Linked DNA regions of Homo sapiens: all the other regions are linked to region 3. Evidence: promoter capture Hi-C in 16 types of primary human blood cells and fetal thymus (Javierre and others, 2016). All regions are on one chromosome and are shown on one strand. Each heading gives the region's core, a stretch centred on a gene start or on the middle of the fragment in contact. The rest is flanking DNA. Distances are from core to core; before and after follow the strand shown.

Region 1 (4,094 bases), core at 1,207-3,706, 570 kb before region 3:
CAAGAAACAGGAAACGTATCAGGTTAATATTTTAATCTGTACATCACATTTTTTTTGCAAACCATTACATTTTTAAATTAACTTTTTCTTGCAAAATATTCATTTCATTTTTTCCAAGAAAATCTTATAAAGGCAAAAATAAAATTTTATTTTGGCAAATGTCATGAAGTCGATACTGGCAGCATATGGAGTTAGTTAAAAATAGACAACAACTGCTAGATATATTCAAAATTCTATTTTTTTTTCTGAGCATAGTCAAAGAGAAATTTTCATTTAAAGTGTGGCTCCACCCAATGGAGGTTTTCGTTGTTGTTGTTTTTTCCATTTAAACGTCATTGTTTATATGCAGAATAATATAAGAAAACAACTTAAATAAAGGGCCACAAACACTGCACCTGGCTTGGTAGCCCCCCTCCTCATGTGGGGCTGGAAGTCAAATCAAAGTCCTGCCATTATGGCCCTGCTGGCGGCAGGCCATGAGGGATGGTGGGGGCACACTGCTGCCCTCCTGCCACCAGACCTGAGTCCCAGGGAAGCCAATCCGGGGTTCTCCAAGGGCAGGCAGCAAAGGTTCCCATCATGGCCTGGTTAGAGGGAAGGGATTTCTAGGTAGATGTCACCCAGTGTGGAGTTTATTGCTACGATACAATGAAAGTTGCTTCCTCTCACCTTTTCTGTATTTCAATGTGTACTGTTAAAAATGAAAGCAGGCTGGGCGTGGTGGCTCACGGCTGTAATCCCAACACTTTGGGATGCTGAAGCGGATGAATCACCTGAGGTCAGGAGTTCGAGACCAACCTCACCAACATGAAGAAACCCCCGTCTCTACTAAAAATACAAAATTAGCCGGGCGTGGTGGCACATGCCTGTAATCCTAGCTACTTGGGAGGCTGAGGCAGGAGAATCACTTGAACCCAGGAGGCAGAGGTTGCAGTGAACCGAGATCGTGCCATTGCACTCCAGCCTGGGCAACAAGAGTGAAACTCCATCTCAAAAAAAAAAAAAGATAGCAAACTGCTTTTTTCTTTCTGACAAGAGCCTTTTGCTGGAGGAAGCCTGGGGGCAGGTTGTGGGCCCCAGTCCTCTTGAACACACTGTTGCCCCTAAGCCAAACCCAAGGGGCAAGGCACAGACTTGGGCTCCACGTGTGATCCTCGTGGAGTTTCACACAGAGCTGGTCATCAGGTCAGGGACAGCTGATCTCTGCAGCCAAGGGCCCCTCTTCTCCCAGACAGCACGCCAACCAGCCTCTTGCTGGAGTCTACTGGGAACACCTCTTTAAATCTCACTTTCTCCTGAGGTCATTGGAAGTTGGACTAGCCTCGGCTTGCCCCGCCCTTCCTGCCCCCACAACACCTGTCACCCAGAAGTACCTGAATCTGTACGTGCAGCTGCAAAGTCCTGCATCCTCAACCTTCCTGCCACTCAGCCCTTGAGGGGAACATTAGAAAATAGATTCCGATTCTAAAATACAGTGTATTTTACAGTGTATATCAAAAGTGCCTTTGCCATTCATATGTAGAGAGGAGTCTGAGCTAAACTAGTGGGTGCATATTAGGGCCTGGCCTGTGGTGAACACCCGCAGTCGGTAAGCTGCTCCTTCCTCCGGCCGGATTCCCTGCTCAGCTGGAAGGGGTTTCCTTGGGGGCAGAAAGGTCATCTCCTTGGAGGAAGCTGGTTCCACTGGGCCCCTGGCTCCAGGCTTCTTTGCATGCTGGGTCACGGGTCAGTCACTGCCTGGGCTGGCAAAAAGCACAGGAGACAGTGAGAGGCTGGCATCCAGGGAGCAGGCACGTCTGCACACACATGATGGAATGGCAGATAGGCGGACAGGCAGAGCAGCAGAGCAGGGGGCTCTGGCAATGCGGCCGCTGCTGGGGGACCCTCAGCTTCCAGGACACATGGGGCTCTTGCCCCACCCTCCCTGCACCCCTATTCCACTGCTAGACACATGCTGGCCCCTAAATTGGGTCCCCATCCCGACAGGGCAAAGACTCTAATAAAGGTGCAGTCTGGCCCTGCCCTTCATTCTTTCAATGTGGGTAGCGCTCTTGGCCTCTGTGGGCCTTGTTTTTCTAACCTAAAAAACATGGTGGTCATACCCACTTCTTAACAAGGATGCTTTGAGAGTAAGAAGAAATGCAGTACTCCAAAGAGTATAATAGGCCAATCTTACAGCCATGGGGGCACCAAAACCCAGGAGGAACAGAACCTCTCTCCTGCCTCTCTGTGACTGAGCGCTGTTACTGTGCTCAGATCTCTAGGAGAAAGCCACACCCTCAAATGTGGCCTTCACAATGGGCGTGGCTAGAGCACTTCCCTATGGCTCCTCAACCACGGGGCCTCTACTCCACACCTCCTCAGAGCCTGGCCCAAGGAGGCTGACCTCTTCCTCTCATGCTCAGGCTGGCGGGGACCTGCTGACTCTGCTGTGAGGCACGGGGAGCACCCAGGATAGACACCTGCCAAAAAATCATGCTTCGCTCCCTGCAGCACAAATACTCTCTCCCTCCTTTCACTTCTTTCTCCAAACACCTAGAGCTGCTCGGGGCGGCCCAGATGAACCCATGAGTGGTGATGGGGAACAAAGGCTCTGAACTCACATCAAAGGGGTTCAAACCCCAGCACTTAACAAGCTGCGATTCCTTGCGCATATCCCTCAAGGCCTCTGAGCTTTTGTTTTTTCATCTCTAAAACGGGGAGGGGGGGGGGAATATCTTCATAGGGTTGTTGTGTGGATCGAAAGAGATACTTAGCACAATGCCTGGCACACAGCAGGCACTCAACAATGTTAACCACAAGTATACGTAAAGGAAGGAGAGGGGAAAGCCCTGCAAAATGATAGTGGGATGGGATGTCAGGGTAAGGACTGCCCAGACTGGTAGTCTGACCTTCCCCTGTCCAGGTGAACCGCTGGGCTCAAAAGCAACAGGCCCAGGCCAAGAACTCACTTGAGACTGGACCAGATGCCAGCCTCCTGTTTCAGGGCTCCCTCCTCATCCCACACTGCCTCTCATCACTAGATGCCCACATGGGGAGAACTTGGTAGGGTTGGTGCCAGAGCTTTCTGCCTGGCTGAGGGCCAATTTCACATTGCCCTGGGCTTCCCTTTCTCTCCCTCTTAAAGTGCCCAGTGACCAAAAGGGCAGTCCCAGTCTCTGCGCTGACACCAATTCTTTGTGACCTGGAGTGAGCCCCAGCCCCTCACTGGGCCTCAGTTTCCTCATCTGTAGAACTGGACTTTTCCCAATCTTACAGTTCTTCAATTTCTTTGGCCAAAGCCCTGAAAGGCCAAGATCTAACTCTTCCTTTCCAGCCCCCCAAGGCTGGCAGTGTGGTCTGCACTGGTTCTCGGGCATCAGGGTGCCCTACTGAGGAGAGCAGGGGATGGGGGCACAGTTCCGGTTCTAGAGATTTCATGGAGGCAGCAGGGTGGATTGCTCAGTCCCTATCGTATTAGAGCCACTGAGGATTGAGTTCCTAAAAAGCATCACTTTCCCACCTGCCTACCAGTCAGAACAGTCCCGCCAGCGGCCGCTTTGCCAGTGGAAGGAGGCATCAGCAGGTGGCACTGCAATCACCTCAGCACAGCAGGGAGGTGAGGGGCTCAGCGCTAGGGAGGTGCAGGAAGCAGGCAGAAGCACACCAGACAGGGGCTCTTACTTGGAAGGTGTTAGACAAAGGTGTAGTGGAGTCCGTTGGTAAAAGGGGGGTAAGGTGGCACCGTCCTGGAAGACAGGGGGCCTTTAGGCGGGAGGAGGGCCAGCTGCTGTGCTAGATGGGGCACACAGGAATTAAGCGGTGTGTTAGACTCCTCATCAGCTCCTGCAGCACCAGATGCCCCATTTGGCAGGCTGGGGTGGCATGGGCCCTGCTGCCCACCACGAAGGGCCTGGGCTTGAGGGTGAGGGACAGATCCACGGGGCCTGGTGGGGAACCGGATGGGTCAGGCTGCAGTTCCTGGATATGTTTCTGAGATGGAGAGAGGCATCAAGAGTGAGGAAAGGCCGCAGCAAAGATCATCCCTGAGTAGGGAGGAAGAAAGGCCCTGGGAACTGGCCGCAGCATGTTAGGGCTGGGAGCGCTCATCTGCT
Region 2 (4,327 bases), core at 1,694-4,193, 620 kb before region 3:
TGGAAGTTCTGGCCAGGGCAATCAGGCAAGAGAAAGAAATAAAGGGTATTCAATTAGGAAATGAGGAAGTCAGATTGTCTCTGTTTGCAGACAACATGATTGCATATTTTGAAAACACCAACATCTCAGCCCAAAATCTCCTTAAGCTGATAAGCAACTTCAGCAAAGTCTCAGAACACAAACTCAATGTACAAAAATCACAAGCATTCCTATACACCAATAATAGACAGAGAGCCAAATCATGAGTGAACTCCCATCCACAATTGCTACAAAGAGAATAAAATACCCAGGAATACAACTTAGAATTGATGTGAAGGACCTCTTCAAGGAGAACTACAAACCACTGCTCAAGGAAATAAGAGAGGACACAAATAAATGGAAAAACATTCCATGCTTATGAATAGGCAGAATCAATATTGTGAAAATGGCCACACTGCCCAAGTTAATTTATAGATTCAATGCTATCCCCATCAAGCTACCATTGACTTTCTTCACAAATTAGAAAAAACTACTTCGTTTCATATGGAAACAAAAAAGAGCCCATATACCCCAGACAATCCTAAGCAAAAAGAACAAAGCTGGAGGCATCACAATACCTCACTTCAAACTAAGCTACAAGGCTACAGTAACCAAAACAGCATGGTACTGGTACCAAAACAGACATATAGACCAACAGAACAGAACAGAGGCTTCTGAAATAATATCACACATCTACAACTATCTGATCTTTGACGAACCTGACACAAACAAGCAACGGGGAAAGGATTCCTTATTTACTAAATGGCTTTGGGAAAACTGGCTAGCCACATGCAGAAAACTGAAACTGGACCCCTTCCTTACACTTTATACAAAAATTAACTCAAGGTGGATTAAAGACTTACATGTAAGACCTAAAACCATAAAAACCCTAGATGAAAACCTAGGCAATACCATACAGAACATAAGCACAGGCAAAGACTTAATGACTAAAACACCAAAAACAATGGCAACAAAAGCCAAAACTGACAAATAGGATCTAATTAAACTAAAGAGCTTCTGCACAGCAAAAGAAACTATCATTGCAGTGAACAGGCAACCTACAGAATGGGAGAAAAATTTTTGCAATCTATCCATCTGACAAAGTGCTAATATCCAGAATCTGCACAGAACTTAAAACAAATTTACAAGAAAAAAACAACCCCATCAAAAAGTGGGTGAAGGATATGAACAGACACTTCTCAAAAGAAGACACTTATGCAGCCAACAAACATGAGAAAAAGCTCACCATCACTAGTCATTAGAGAAATGCAAATCAAAACTACAATCATCTCACACCAGTTAGAAGGGCAATCATTAAAAAGTCAAGAAACAACAGATGCTGGATAGAATGTGGAGAAATAGGAACGCTTTTACACTGTTGGTGAGAATGTGAATTAGTTCAACCATTGTGGAAGACAGTGTGACAATTCCTCAAGGATCTAGAACAAGAAATGCCATTTGGCCCAGAAATCCCATTACTGGGTATACACCCAAAGGATTATAAATCATTGTACTTTAAAGACAGATGCACATGTATGTTTATTGGAGCACTGTTCACAATAGCAAAGACTTGGAACCAACCCAAATACCCATCAATGATAGACTGGATAAAGAAAATGTGGCACATATACACCATGGAATACTATGCAGTCATAAAAAAGGATGAGTTCAGGTCCTTTGCAGGGACATGGATAAAGCTGGAAACCATGAGTCTCAGCAAACCATCACAAGAATAGAAAAACCAAACACGACATGTTCCCACTCATAAGCGGCAGTTGAACAATGAGAACACATGGACACAGGGAGGGGAATATCACATACCGGGGCCTGTTGGGGGTGGGGGGCTAGGGGAGGGATAGCATTATGAGAAATACCTAATGCAGATGATGGGTTGATGGGTGCAGCAAACCATCATGGCACGTATATACCTATGTAACAAACCTTCATGTTCTGCACATGTATCCCAGAACTTAAAGTATAAAAAAAAAAAAAAAAAAAAGGGCCAGGCACGGTGGCTCACGTCTGTAATCCCAGCACTTTGGGAGGCCGAGGCGGGTGGATCACAGGGTCAGGAGAGCGAGACCATCCTGGATAATACGGTGAAACCCCATCTCTACTAAAAATACAAAAAAATTAGCCGGGCATGGTGGCAGGCACCTGTAGTCCCAGCTACTCAGGAGGCTGAGGCAGGAGAATGGCATGAACCTGGAAGGCAGAGCCTGCAGTGACCCAAGATCGTGCCACTGCACTCTAGCCTGGGTGACAGAGCGAGACTTTGTCTCAAAAAAAAAAAAAAAAAAAGAAGATATACATCAACAACAATTTTATTGAAGCAATTTTAAGCAATACATTTTTCATTTCCCTTTTCATTCCTTTTTCATTTAAGTTCCTAGGTATGTGTAAAATAATCAAGTTAATATTTATAGTGCCACATTTTAAATCACAGTAGCACTCTGACAAATCTGCCTGCCCAATGGACAGAATGGGAGTTACCCAATCATCAACCATCATCAACCACAAATATGTATTTATTTATACCTTGTTTTCAAGATTCTGTGTTAGACCCTAGAGTTGCATTTATATTATGCCTTTAAAATCAGCTTCTAAATGGGCTTCATCTCATAGTCCACCACAGTGGAATAATGCATTTTTCACATTTTTTCCCTTTGCTTCAATGACACTAACCTCTCCTTCTTCTAGTTCTATGTCTACCTTCTAACCTCAGGCTCTTCTTCCTCATTCTATCCTTAAATCTTCTCCTTCTTGTTCTTTTCCAAGTATCTCTCTTCTAGGCACTCACTAGGTAAGCTTAGTTACTCTCCTTGTTGACCCACCACCTCTAGATGGGTGATTTCTAAGTTTATTGCTCTCTCCTAACTTTGAAGCCCATATTTTTAACAGTTCCACTTGGTGTCCTACTAATACTTTAACATGTCTAAAATCAAAGTCATCCTACCACATAAACTTGCTCCTCTCTAACCTCACCGATTCATATATTAAAACAACAAATATCTATTGAGTGATAGTTTATATGTCATGGTGCTAAGCTTAGATCCTACCCAAAAGCAGCTGAGAGTCTAGAACAGTCAACAAGACTAGTATCTTTGTTCAATACCTTTATTATAGCACTTATTTTTGTTGTGGTGGGCTAATCAAGATAAGTTAAAGATAATAGTAGAAAATAAGACTGGAATGGATTATTGAGATCAGAATATCGACCTTATTCTGACCTCAAGAACTGAATTCTTATTTTAATTATAGGCTTAATTCTATCAACTTAATTCTGTATAAAATGGGGAGCTCCAAGAAGTTTTTGAGCAGTAGAATCTCTACATTCCATTTTCAGAGGCTGAATCTGCCTAGAATGCATAAAATGAATTTAAATGGAGAAGTATTAGAAAACAGGTCACACAGATCTATGGAAGAGATTATCTTAATCTGAACCCATATAGTGAGAGAGTTAAACTCAAGGCTTTTCACAGCCCGGCTTTGATCAGCCTATAGAATTTTGTCTCAGAATACAATACTTTTAGGCTTATCAGGTTTCAGCACACTGGACACTAACCATCACTGAATATATGCCCCATCCTGCCCAAACTGTTTTTTCAAGGCCTAGCTCAAAAACTTTTGGGAAATAATTTTCCAATTTCCCTCAGCCAAAATGAACTGTTCTACAGCATTTTATTTGTAATTTACTGATGCCATTTAATCATTCTCCTGCCAAGCTGTAAACTCTTTGCAGTAAAGGATTATGCATTATTCACTCTGGTTTTCCTCAAACTTGGCACACTTCCTGACATATATGAAGCATCTTATTTAATGTTGGGTTATATTGGCACAGTGGAAAGTGCACTGGCTTTTGGAATTAGACTTAAGGACTGAATCATTCACTAGCTACATTATTTTAAGCAAGTATTTAACTTTTCTTAAGTTTAATTACCTATAAAATTCCCTACTTCTTGCAAATTATTGTGAAACTTTGAGGTCAATTGTAAAAATCACCTATAAAAAGCACCTAGCAAAGTATATGGTACATGGTGGGTATTTAATAAATGGTAACTGTAATTAAGGCCCTAGGAATTTTTTTTTTTAGTCTCAAGTGAAACAGCAGATTTTTTGTACACAGCATAATCTTCAAAGCCTTTATTTCCTCTTCAGTTTTAACTATGGTCAATCATGACTATCCCTGGTTGAGAGCACGTACTCGACAAACATCTGTGACTGCCCACTACATGCTAAATGTTGGGAAAATTTAAAAAAATGTAAAGTTCTCAGTGACAGGGCCTCCTCTCCTTGTCTTTACTACCCA
Region 3 (4,362 bases), core at 1,761-4,260:
TTTTTTGAGACAGAGTCTTACACTTGTCACTCAGGCTGGAGTGCAACGGCATTGATCTCGGCTCACTGCAACCTCCGCTTCCCGGGTTCAAGTGATTCTCCTGCTTCAGCCTCCCGAGTAGCTGGGATTACAGGCGTCTGCCACCACACCTGGCTAAGTTTTGTATTTTTAGTAGAGACAGGGTTTCACCATGTTGGCCAGGCTGGTCTCGAACTCCTGACCTCAGGTGATCCACCCGCCTCGGCCTCCCAAAGTGCTGGGATTACAGGTGTGAGCCACCGCGCCCAGCAGAAAGCTTTTCTTATACTGAGCCAAAATCTCTCTCCAACTTGCTTTTGCCTTCAAGAACATCACCTAACATGTGTACTCACATACACAGGTGTTAGCTTTTCAGAGACTTACAAGACTGGTACCATTTCTTAAACCCCCAGGCTACTCCAAACAAAATGGGCTCAGCTCCTTTACTCATTTGTAGTGATTAGGATTAGGTTCTGCTGAAAATGAGAACATTTTAAATAAGAGTAGCTTACTGACTTTATTTCTTATGTTCCACAGGTCCAGAGGTGTCCTTCTAAAGCTGGTAGAGGTTTCACGAGTCATCAGGGACCCAGAACCCTTCTCTTTTGCTGTCCCTTTGTCCTAGTGCATGGTTTCCACACTGTGGTGCAAGATGTCTCCTCAAGCTCTAGGCATTACATCTGCTATCCTGCTGTCAGAAAGAAGGAAGGGGAAAAGAAGATCATTTCCTTCTCTTTAAGGACATTTCCCAGAAGTCACACAGAACATTTCCATTTATATTACTTTGGCCAGAACTTGGTCATATGGCCACATTTAGTTCCAGAATGATTAGGAAATGCAGTCTTTTATTGATCCCTGTGCCCAGGAAAATATTGGAGGCCTTTTTCAAGGAAAAAGGGGAAAACAGATATTGGTTGACAAATAGCAGTCTCTGCCATACTGTCCCTGGATACATGTCTTTGAGTGAATGTCCCTTATTTACCATTCTGATTACTTGTTGGATATTTTCAATATGTGTTACAATATGGTTCCAAAATTGTATGTGATATTCCAACAGCAAGTTGGATGCAATGTGTCATAAAAATGACCTCAGTGTCAACCAGCATTTGAATACCGTGTCTCAATGCTGTGCACCAATAAAGAACACAGAAAGTCAGAGTTTTCCATAAATAATTCCTGAGAATATATGCTTATTTTGTTTGAGAAGCATCGTGAGGTATCTGCTGTGTGCTTTAGGGTTGAATGGAAAGTTGGCAAAAGTATTAAAAGACATGTTCAGGCCGGGTGTGGTGGCTCACGCCTGTGATCCCAGCACTTTGGGAGGCCGAGGTGGGCGGATCACTTGAGGTCAGGAGTTCAAGACCAGCCTGGCCAACATGGTGAAACTCTGTCTCTACTAAAAATACAAAAATTAGCTGGGTGTGGTGGCAGGCACCTGCAATCCCAGCTACTTGGGAGGATGAAGCTGAGGCACAATAATCTCTTGAACCTGGGAGGCAGAGGTTGCAGTGAGCTGAGATCACGCCACTGCACTCCAGCCTGGGCAACAGAACGAGACTCTGTCTCACCAAAAAAAAAAAAAAAAAAAAAAAAAAAAAAAAGATGTTCAAATAGACATGATATTGGTAAAAACGAAAACACAGGTAATGACTTTTCATTCTAATGAAATATAAATAGAGAAACCTGCCGGTTTTACCCTTTAGAGTAAAAAGGGTACAAAAAAATTACCAAAACAGTAAAAATTACCAAAAGAGTAATTTGATAATTTCTACAGGGTGATGTGTATGTGTCACAACTTTGTGAATCACTATTCTGGGCATGTATAAGAAGTCGTCATATACCTCCATTGGGAATGTTATTTAATGATGTCACTAATACCAGACAAGGATGTCTCCTCAGGTAAGGCTCCTTGGAGGAGGCAGAGGTTGAGAAGAGGTGTAATTTAGGTTTTAAAAATTCAATAGCTGGACTTAACCTTGCATATCTCTACCTGTTATAACGGTGGTCCGGAAGGCTGCGATCTGAAGGCCCCTCAGCTAGTTGCTGCCACTGTGGGCACTCTGCGCATCTTTCACTTCTGAGCTCTTTCTGTATGCACTCTGTTCTGCAGATAAGTGAGAATGTGACTATTTGCTTAGTCAGTGACAGTGTCTCTAACCCTGGAAAGGAAGCTTTTACTCTCTCAGTTTTAGAGACATGTGAACAGGCTGGGGATATGAGGTCACTTACCCACTGTCTTATAATCAGCAGATGGCATGGTTGGCATTGGAGTTTAGGTCTGTCTGTGCTTTTCTGTACATTACATCCTTTTTAATGATGCGAAGGAAAAATGCAGTAGGGTCAATGAGACAAATGGAATGCAGGTTGCTGGGGAAAGAATGCAGGTTCTGCGTTATAAATGCACACACATTTACTGTGCCACTTGGGTTCTGAACTTTGCGGTTAAATTGATTTAAAAACTGGTGTAGAGGTGGTAAAACTTAATCACCGAATGAGAATATTTGGGTTTGCTTCAGGAGGTCGCAAGCCACTTCTTGATTAGTAGAAATGGGAAATTAAGGGCCACCTTCAGGCGTTTAACTGAATTGTCCTGGGGATTTAATTTGCCTTTCGACTTAATGCTAAATTTTTGTTGTTTTTGGTTTTTAAAGTAATGTAAGTTTATCGCGCCAACGGTAAGATGTCGCTCTGGACGCGTGCACCTGCTCTCGCAATCACCGACTGCGGTCAGCATCTTCCTTAGAGCAGCGCCCCGGGCCACTTGGATCCCGGTCTCAATTTACTAAGCGAACCCAGAGGATGCCCCGAGTCCTGGACCGCAGAGCCGCTCGCGAGAGGCACCGGGGCTGTAACCGCGCAACCTCGTGCCGCGGGCGGAGGCGAGGGAGGATTCCCCGGCCGGTGCCCGCCCCCGGGCTAAAGTGCGGCGCGGGTGGGGCTGGTCACGCGCCTGGCTTCCTGCAGTGCGAACCTGGGAAATCCAGGCGACTTCGCAGTTGCCGAAGGGATCTGAAGAAGTGGGATGTGCAAAAGCGCCGGCTGGAAATCCCGGCTGTGTCTCCGTCAACTCTTTACGCAACAGAGGTCTCCCCCTGCCCTTGGTTTCTACCGGGCCGCCTGCTCCCACTCGGCGAAAAAAATTACACAACAGCAGCCGCGGCGATGACGTGGAGGGCTGCCGCCTCCACGTGCGCGGCGCTCCTGATTCTGCTGTGGGCGCTGACGACCGAAGGTAGGGGGCGGCTGGGGTGGGCTGGGGCGGGGGCTCCTGGCGCCAGAGGGTCCTCGCGGGTCGGCTCCCTAGCATCCCGCCAGGGGACCTCAACTTCCTGGGGGCTGAGAGCTCTATTTTCTTTTCTATTTCTTCTCCTTTTTTTTTTTTTTTTTTTTTGAGACGGAGTCTCGCTCTGTCTCCCAGGCTGGAGTGAAGTGGCGCGATCTCGGCTCACTGCAAGCTCCGCCTCCCAGGTTCACGCCATTCTCCTGCCTCAGACTCCCGAGTAGCTGGGACCACAGGCGCCCGCCACCATGCCCGGCTAATTTTTTGTACTTTTAGTAGAGACGGGGTTTCACAGTGTTAGCCAAGATGGTCTCCTTGACCTAGTGATCCAGCCGCCTCGGCCTCCCAAAGTGCGGGGATTACAGGCGTGAGCCCCCGCGCCCGGCCTGGGGGCTCTATTTTCAAGCGTCCCTCCTTTGTGAGAAGCGGAGTCCCCGATGCAACAGGTTTACATTGAAGGCCTGCCCTGTGCAGGGTCGACACCTGTGAGAGCGGAAACGGTGCTTCCTTGGATGTCGCGCGTTTGGTGCCTCGGTATTTGGCGCCTCTCTCGCATCATCCGAGGGGCCGGAGGAGAGAAGAAAATCAGGGAATCGGTAAATTGGAAAAATCATTCATCCGCATATCAGTGGGTCCTCCTGGCTTTGCTAAGTTAGGTCTTTACTGAGAGAGGGAGGGGAGTGTTTTGATCTTGTGGTGACCTTCAAACGTTCTCTTGCTTTTTTGGGAACTCGTATGGGCGTGTTCTGCGTTAACTTAAACAGGAGACTAAAAGGCTGAAACGCGTATGTAGAGATATTTAAACTCATTTCTAACTAGAAGAATGGCAATTAAACAACAAGATGCTGCTTGACCCTTACTAGGCTGGCCAAAATACGCTCCTGGGTGCCGGGTGGTGGAGGTGGAATGTAGGAATCCCGGAGGCGCGCTCTGGGCGCCCCGAGTCACTGCAGGTGGAGGAGAGCCGCGTGTGGACCTCACCGTGGAGACCTTGGCGGCAGCTTCACACCACGCCCTTGCTGCTTGCCGAGCAGCGTGAACGGATGTTGAAGGCGTAGAGCCAA
Region 4 (4,144 bases), core at 262-2,761, 550 kb before region 3:
GGCACACGTGCAGGCAGACATGTCACCCCCAGACAAGGTTATCTACTGTCAGGTGGCAGTTCTGCTACTGGAGAAGCTCTGCTATTTCAGGACTCTTGCCTCTGGACACCAACTCAACTACATCTTGGGAGGGGAGAAAAGCAGCCCCTTGCTCAGCCCGTCCTGAGGGAGACAGGTCTGCCACCCTCTACGCACAGTGGACTCTCTGGAGAGCTCAGCTCGGATATGGACAAGGTCCTCCTGCAGCAACTTCTGCTGGTAGGCAATCTTCTCCAAGTGCTGGGGCTGGTCTCGGTACTGCTCCATCTGTCTGTGCAACACCTCCAGCACAGATTCTAGCTGGTCCTGCACCACGAAGGGCCAAAAAACAGCAGGATAGGAGGACAGTCCCCAGAGGCCTCCCCATACCACACCAGGAACCAAAGCTACTGGACCTAACCAAGGCCGAAGGGATCAGCGCTGAGATGTGGGCCCACAGTCGGGGCTCTGATGCCAGCTCTGACTCTGTCTAGGGAGTAGGCTGGGGAAAGTACCTAACAGCTCTGTGCCTCAATTTTGTCATCTATAAACTAGGGATACAGCTGTCTAACTCCTTATGGGATAAACTAAGAGAATAAACTAAGCTAAGAGGATAAATCAAAGAATTAAAAAAACAAAAAACAAAAACCTCTTTAGCCTCCTAGGGAAAAGAGTATATTGTCAACCTCCAGCATCACGAATTTAAAATGCAAAAGGAAAAAAATACTTTAAGAATAGAAAAGGCCAAATGTTGGTGGCCCCTGGCCCATTCCGGCACTCCCATCCAGACTTGCTGCCTCCATAGCCCAGATCCTAGGAGACAAGGAGCTTTAGGAAGCAAAGGCCTCTGCCCTGTAATGACTACAGCCACTTCCTCCAAAGGAACCCTGCTTCCCTGGGGTTCAGGGACCTGGGGTCATCACATATAAGCCAGTGGAGCTCCTCTCCCAGGCTCACCTCACAGGGCCTCCACGGAGAGGTAAGCCAAAGCAGAATGGGGGCAGGAGGGTCTCTATAAGATAGAAACCCCTAAGAAACACCATTTAAACACAAAGGCTTTTTTTTTTTTCCTCCTGAGACGAAGTCTTCCTCTGTTGCCTAGGCTGGAATACAGTGGCGTGATCTCGGCTCACTGCAACCTCTGCCTCCCGGGTTCAAGCAATTCTTCTGCCTCAGCCTCCTGAGTAGCTGGGATTACAGGTGCCCACCACCATGCCCAGCTAATTTTTGTATTTTTAGTGGAGACAGGGTTTCACCATGTTGGTCAGGCTGGTCTCGAACTCCTGACCTCATGATCCACCTGCCTTGGCCTTCCAAAGTGCTGAGATTACAGGCATGAGCCACCGCACCTGGTGCATTTTTTTTTAAATAAGCTAACATCTGCTCTTCAATACTAACATGAGGGTCCAGCCTATGTCTCAAGAAAGACAGGACAAAATGTCCCTCTGCCCATTCCAAGATTATTCAAAACTGACACGTACTTTGTTCTCTTTAAGGGCTCGTATCTTGTCTTCCAAGTCCTGGAGGACCCTGTCTTGTTCACAGAAGATGCTCAGTTTGACCTAAAAGCAAGAACAGGTGGAGAGGGCCTGGGGTGATGAGAAAAGGACATGACCTTGGGATTGCAATCAGACAGCCTTTGGCTACAGAACCATCCAAGCCCTGCCTGAAGCTGTTCACCCGGGGTCTGGGTCAGGAGGCAGCTGAGGGGTCAGCGTGTCACTCTGCTCACTCACGTCAGTGTCGCTCTCAGCGATCTTCACAGGCTTCAGACTTCGATCCTTGAGAAGGTCCCGGCCTGTCATCTGGGAGGCGAACAATTTAAAAGAGATTTAACCATGGTGTTTGAGATCAGAACTCAGGAAAGAAAATTCATCCTATAATGGATGGTGTGGAAGTCCTTGGCAGTGGCAGGTAGGGTCATAGTATGAGAGGGACAAAAACTTGGGCCATACTTCGCTATTTCTATGCCTATTTCATTTTAGGAAAAAACCAAAACCTTTTGATGATTCTAGTAATGCTGGTAAGTCCTTTGAGTTAAAGAAAATGTAGATGTTCAAGTTAAAGGATCATCAATTTTAAAAGTATATATTTGCCTAAAATGAATGTGAAAAATCAGCATGAATCTTGGAAGATTTGCCACCGATAAGACAGAGGTGTACTACTGAACGTGGGAACAAACACAAGTTACGAAGCCCATCACCCCCTGCCCAGGGTGGTGAGATGGGCAGACCCAGAGGAACAAACAAATCCCTTGACCATTGTCAAGCCTTAGTTTAATGAAGTCTCTGAGCAGCCCACTTCCCCGTGGGTAAGGCCAGCCTTCCTTACCCTTTACCATTTGGGAAGAAGACCTGGCCAAGGTAAAAAGGAACCTGGCTAGTTCCCAGCAAGGGTTTTTAATTGTTCCCTGAATAACTGAGGCTAGGCTGTACTTGTGTAAGTTACAAGAAAGGAAACCATAAAGCAATATACAAAAGTCACCCAAACTTGCGGGCCAATGGGATTTTACATTTCCCATCCCTCACTTGACTCAAAGTAGGCAATATGCTGCCTGTCTCTCACTGACTCCTGAGAATCTAAATCTTACTTATCCCATTTTTCCATTTCCCCCAATTTCTTTCTTGCCAAAAGTCATGCAGGGGCTGAGGGGAGTGACTTTCACAGATGCACCCTCCCATGGCCAAGATAAGGCCAGGGAGAACCAAGTCTATTTTGCCTAATGTAGGGGAAACCACCTCACTGAGCTCTATTTTGCAGATCTGACCAGGAAAATGGAGGGTGGAGCTAACAGTGGCAGAGACAGGTGGTGTGTGTGTGCTATGCAGAGAGGTCCCAATGTGGACCGATAGCTGCTGGAGAGAGAGGTGTAGATTTCTCCCCATTCTATCTGTAAGGTCCAGGAAGTTTGTCAGTGTGGATTGGGGGTGGAAATAAATTGGCAAACATTCCACTCAGTGCTCAAGCCCTTCATGTGCCCAACTGTCCTATGCTACCTCTCCCTGCAAACTGTCATGAGCAAATCCAAAGGTCAAGGGAGAGGACCTCTCCCTGCCTTGGAGTGAGGACTGATTCTGGGCTACACACATGCCCCACCCATTCCCACGATCCCTTTGGTCACACAGAAGAGGACGGAACCATTGTTTTATCTTGGTAAAGTCAGCCCTGAACAGAAGACCTGGCACAAACTCAGCAAATGCTTATTGAATTGCATTGCATGTAGGTCAAAGGGAAACACATGTAGGTCAGTGTTGTTGAGTTCCCGGAAAAAATAGAACTCCAGCCAAATTCTGCTCTTCAGACTGTCAGATTATGTGTACATACACGTATACACACAGTTGCAGAACACAAGACTGCAACAATCCACAAACAAACAGACTGTGCTGTCTCCTGCAATGCGGGGGGGGCGGTGCAGGGAGGTGTGGGGAGGTGGGCATGAAGTTAATCCTGGTGAATCACAAACAGCTGAACTTCTCAGGCAGAATGTGGGTTTTAAACTCAGGGGAACCCAGGAGAAAAAGCAGGTGAAAGCAGTGAAGTCTTCGCTCTATGCCATCGTCCTTTCATCAAAGCCAAGAACAAGGAGGTTGTCTATTCTCCAAACCGGCTGACCTTTGGGGCTCATTTTCTAGGTAGAAATCATTTTCAAATGGAGATACACTCTGGGGATTCTTTCCCCCAGCAAAACTCTTCCCCTTATTTCACTGAAGCTTTTTACAGAGGATGTCTTTTTGATACTTAAATAACAAGCCAGAAAATCTAATTGAGCAATGCCTCATTTATCCAGCACCATCAGGAAAAGAATGAGATATTTTATATAAAAAGGACATTTTGAGAAGAAGCTGAATCCTCTAAATTATACTTTTTGATGGAAAGCTTTCTAAAAGTATGCCCTTTGCTGCCTTCATGGAATACTGAATATACATTCAACCTTTTTTTTCTCTCTCTCAGGATATTAGTACTACCTCTTTTTCTAAGAAGTAGATTTCTCTTGTCCCTTTTTAAAGTGCTGCTTATCTTGCCAGGCACGGTGGCTCACACCTGTAATCCCAGCACTTTGGGAGGCCAAGGCGGGTGAATTATGAGGTCAGGAGTTCAAGATCAGTCTGGCCAACATGGTGAAACC

What was found. Contacts are between HindIII fragments. The CHiCAGO score rates a contact against its expected background, and 5 or more counts as called.
Region 1: a contact is called between a fragment that was not itself captured here and the fragment with the promoter of NCR3LG1 in region 3, in 1 of 17 cell types (monocytes). The highest score is 5.6, in monocytes.
Region 2: a contact is called between a fragment that was not itself captured here and the fragment with the promoter of NCR3LG1 in region 3, in 2 of 17 cell types (naive CD8 T cells and naive CD4 T cells). The highest score is 7.3, in naive CD8 T cells.
Region 4: a fragment that was not itself captured here is called in contact with the fragment with the promoter of NCR3LG1 in region 3 in 1 of 17 cell types (monocytes); the score reaches 6.7 in monocytes.

Annotation. Positions count from the first base shown.
Region 1 is chr11:16,777,279-16,781,372 of GRCh38, forward strand. PLEKHA7 (pleckstrin homology domain containing A7) reads right to left here. Exons shown (of 27, transcript NM_001329630.2): 27 at 19-1,742. The coding sequence ends at 1,720. Among named protein-coding and RNA genes, the nearest start is that of C11orf58, 41 kb to the left of the region's middle. RefSeq lists enhancers at 1,472-2,195, 2,196-2,918, 3,314-4,008, 4,009-4,094. The HindIII fragment of the contact is 9,770 bases long and covers 1-4,094 here.
Region 2 is chr11:16,731,727-16,736,053 of GRCh38, forward strand. It overlaps a transcript of SOX6 not described here. Among named protein-coding and RNA genes, the nearest start is that of C11orf58, 4.8 kb to the right of the region's middle. The HindIII fragment of the contact is 239 bases long and covers 2,825-3,063 here.
Region 3 is chr11:17,348,790-17,353,151 of GRCh38, forward strand. NCR3LG1 (natural killer cell cytotoxicity receptor 3 ligand 1) reads left to right here and starts at 3,011. Exons shown (of 5, transcript NM_001202439.3): 1 at 3,011-3,250. The coding sequence starts at 3,181. It overlaps LOC105376576 (a long non-coding RNA gene), which reads right to left and starts at 3,077. Exons shown (of 3, transcript XR_931094.3): 1 at 2,990-3,077; 2 at 2,248-2,385; 3 at 2,024-2,122. It also overlaps a transcript of NUCB2 not described here. RefSeq lists a silencer at 2,833-2,952 and enhancers at 2,949-3,550, 3,551-4,152. The HindIII fragment of the contact is 2,891 bases long and covers 2,188-4,362 here.
Region 4 is chr11:16,801,473-16,805,616 of GRCh38, forward strand. PLEKHA7 (pleckstrin homology domain containing A7) reads right to left here. Exons shown (of 27, transcript NM_001329630.2): 14 at 1,755-1,823; 15 at 1,500-1,580; 16 at 196-345. Among named protein-coding and RNA genes, the nearest start is that of C11orf58, 65 kb to the left of the region's middle. RefSeq lists an enhancer at 678-1,877. The HindIII fragment of the contact is 4,430 bases long and covers 1-3,726 here.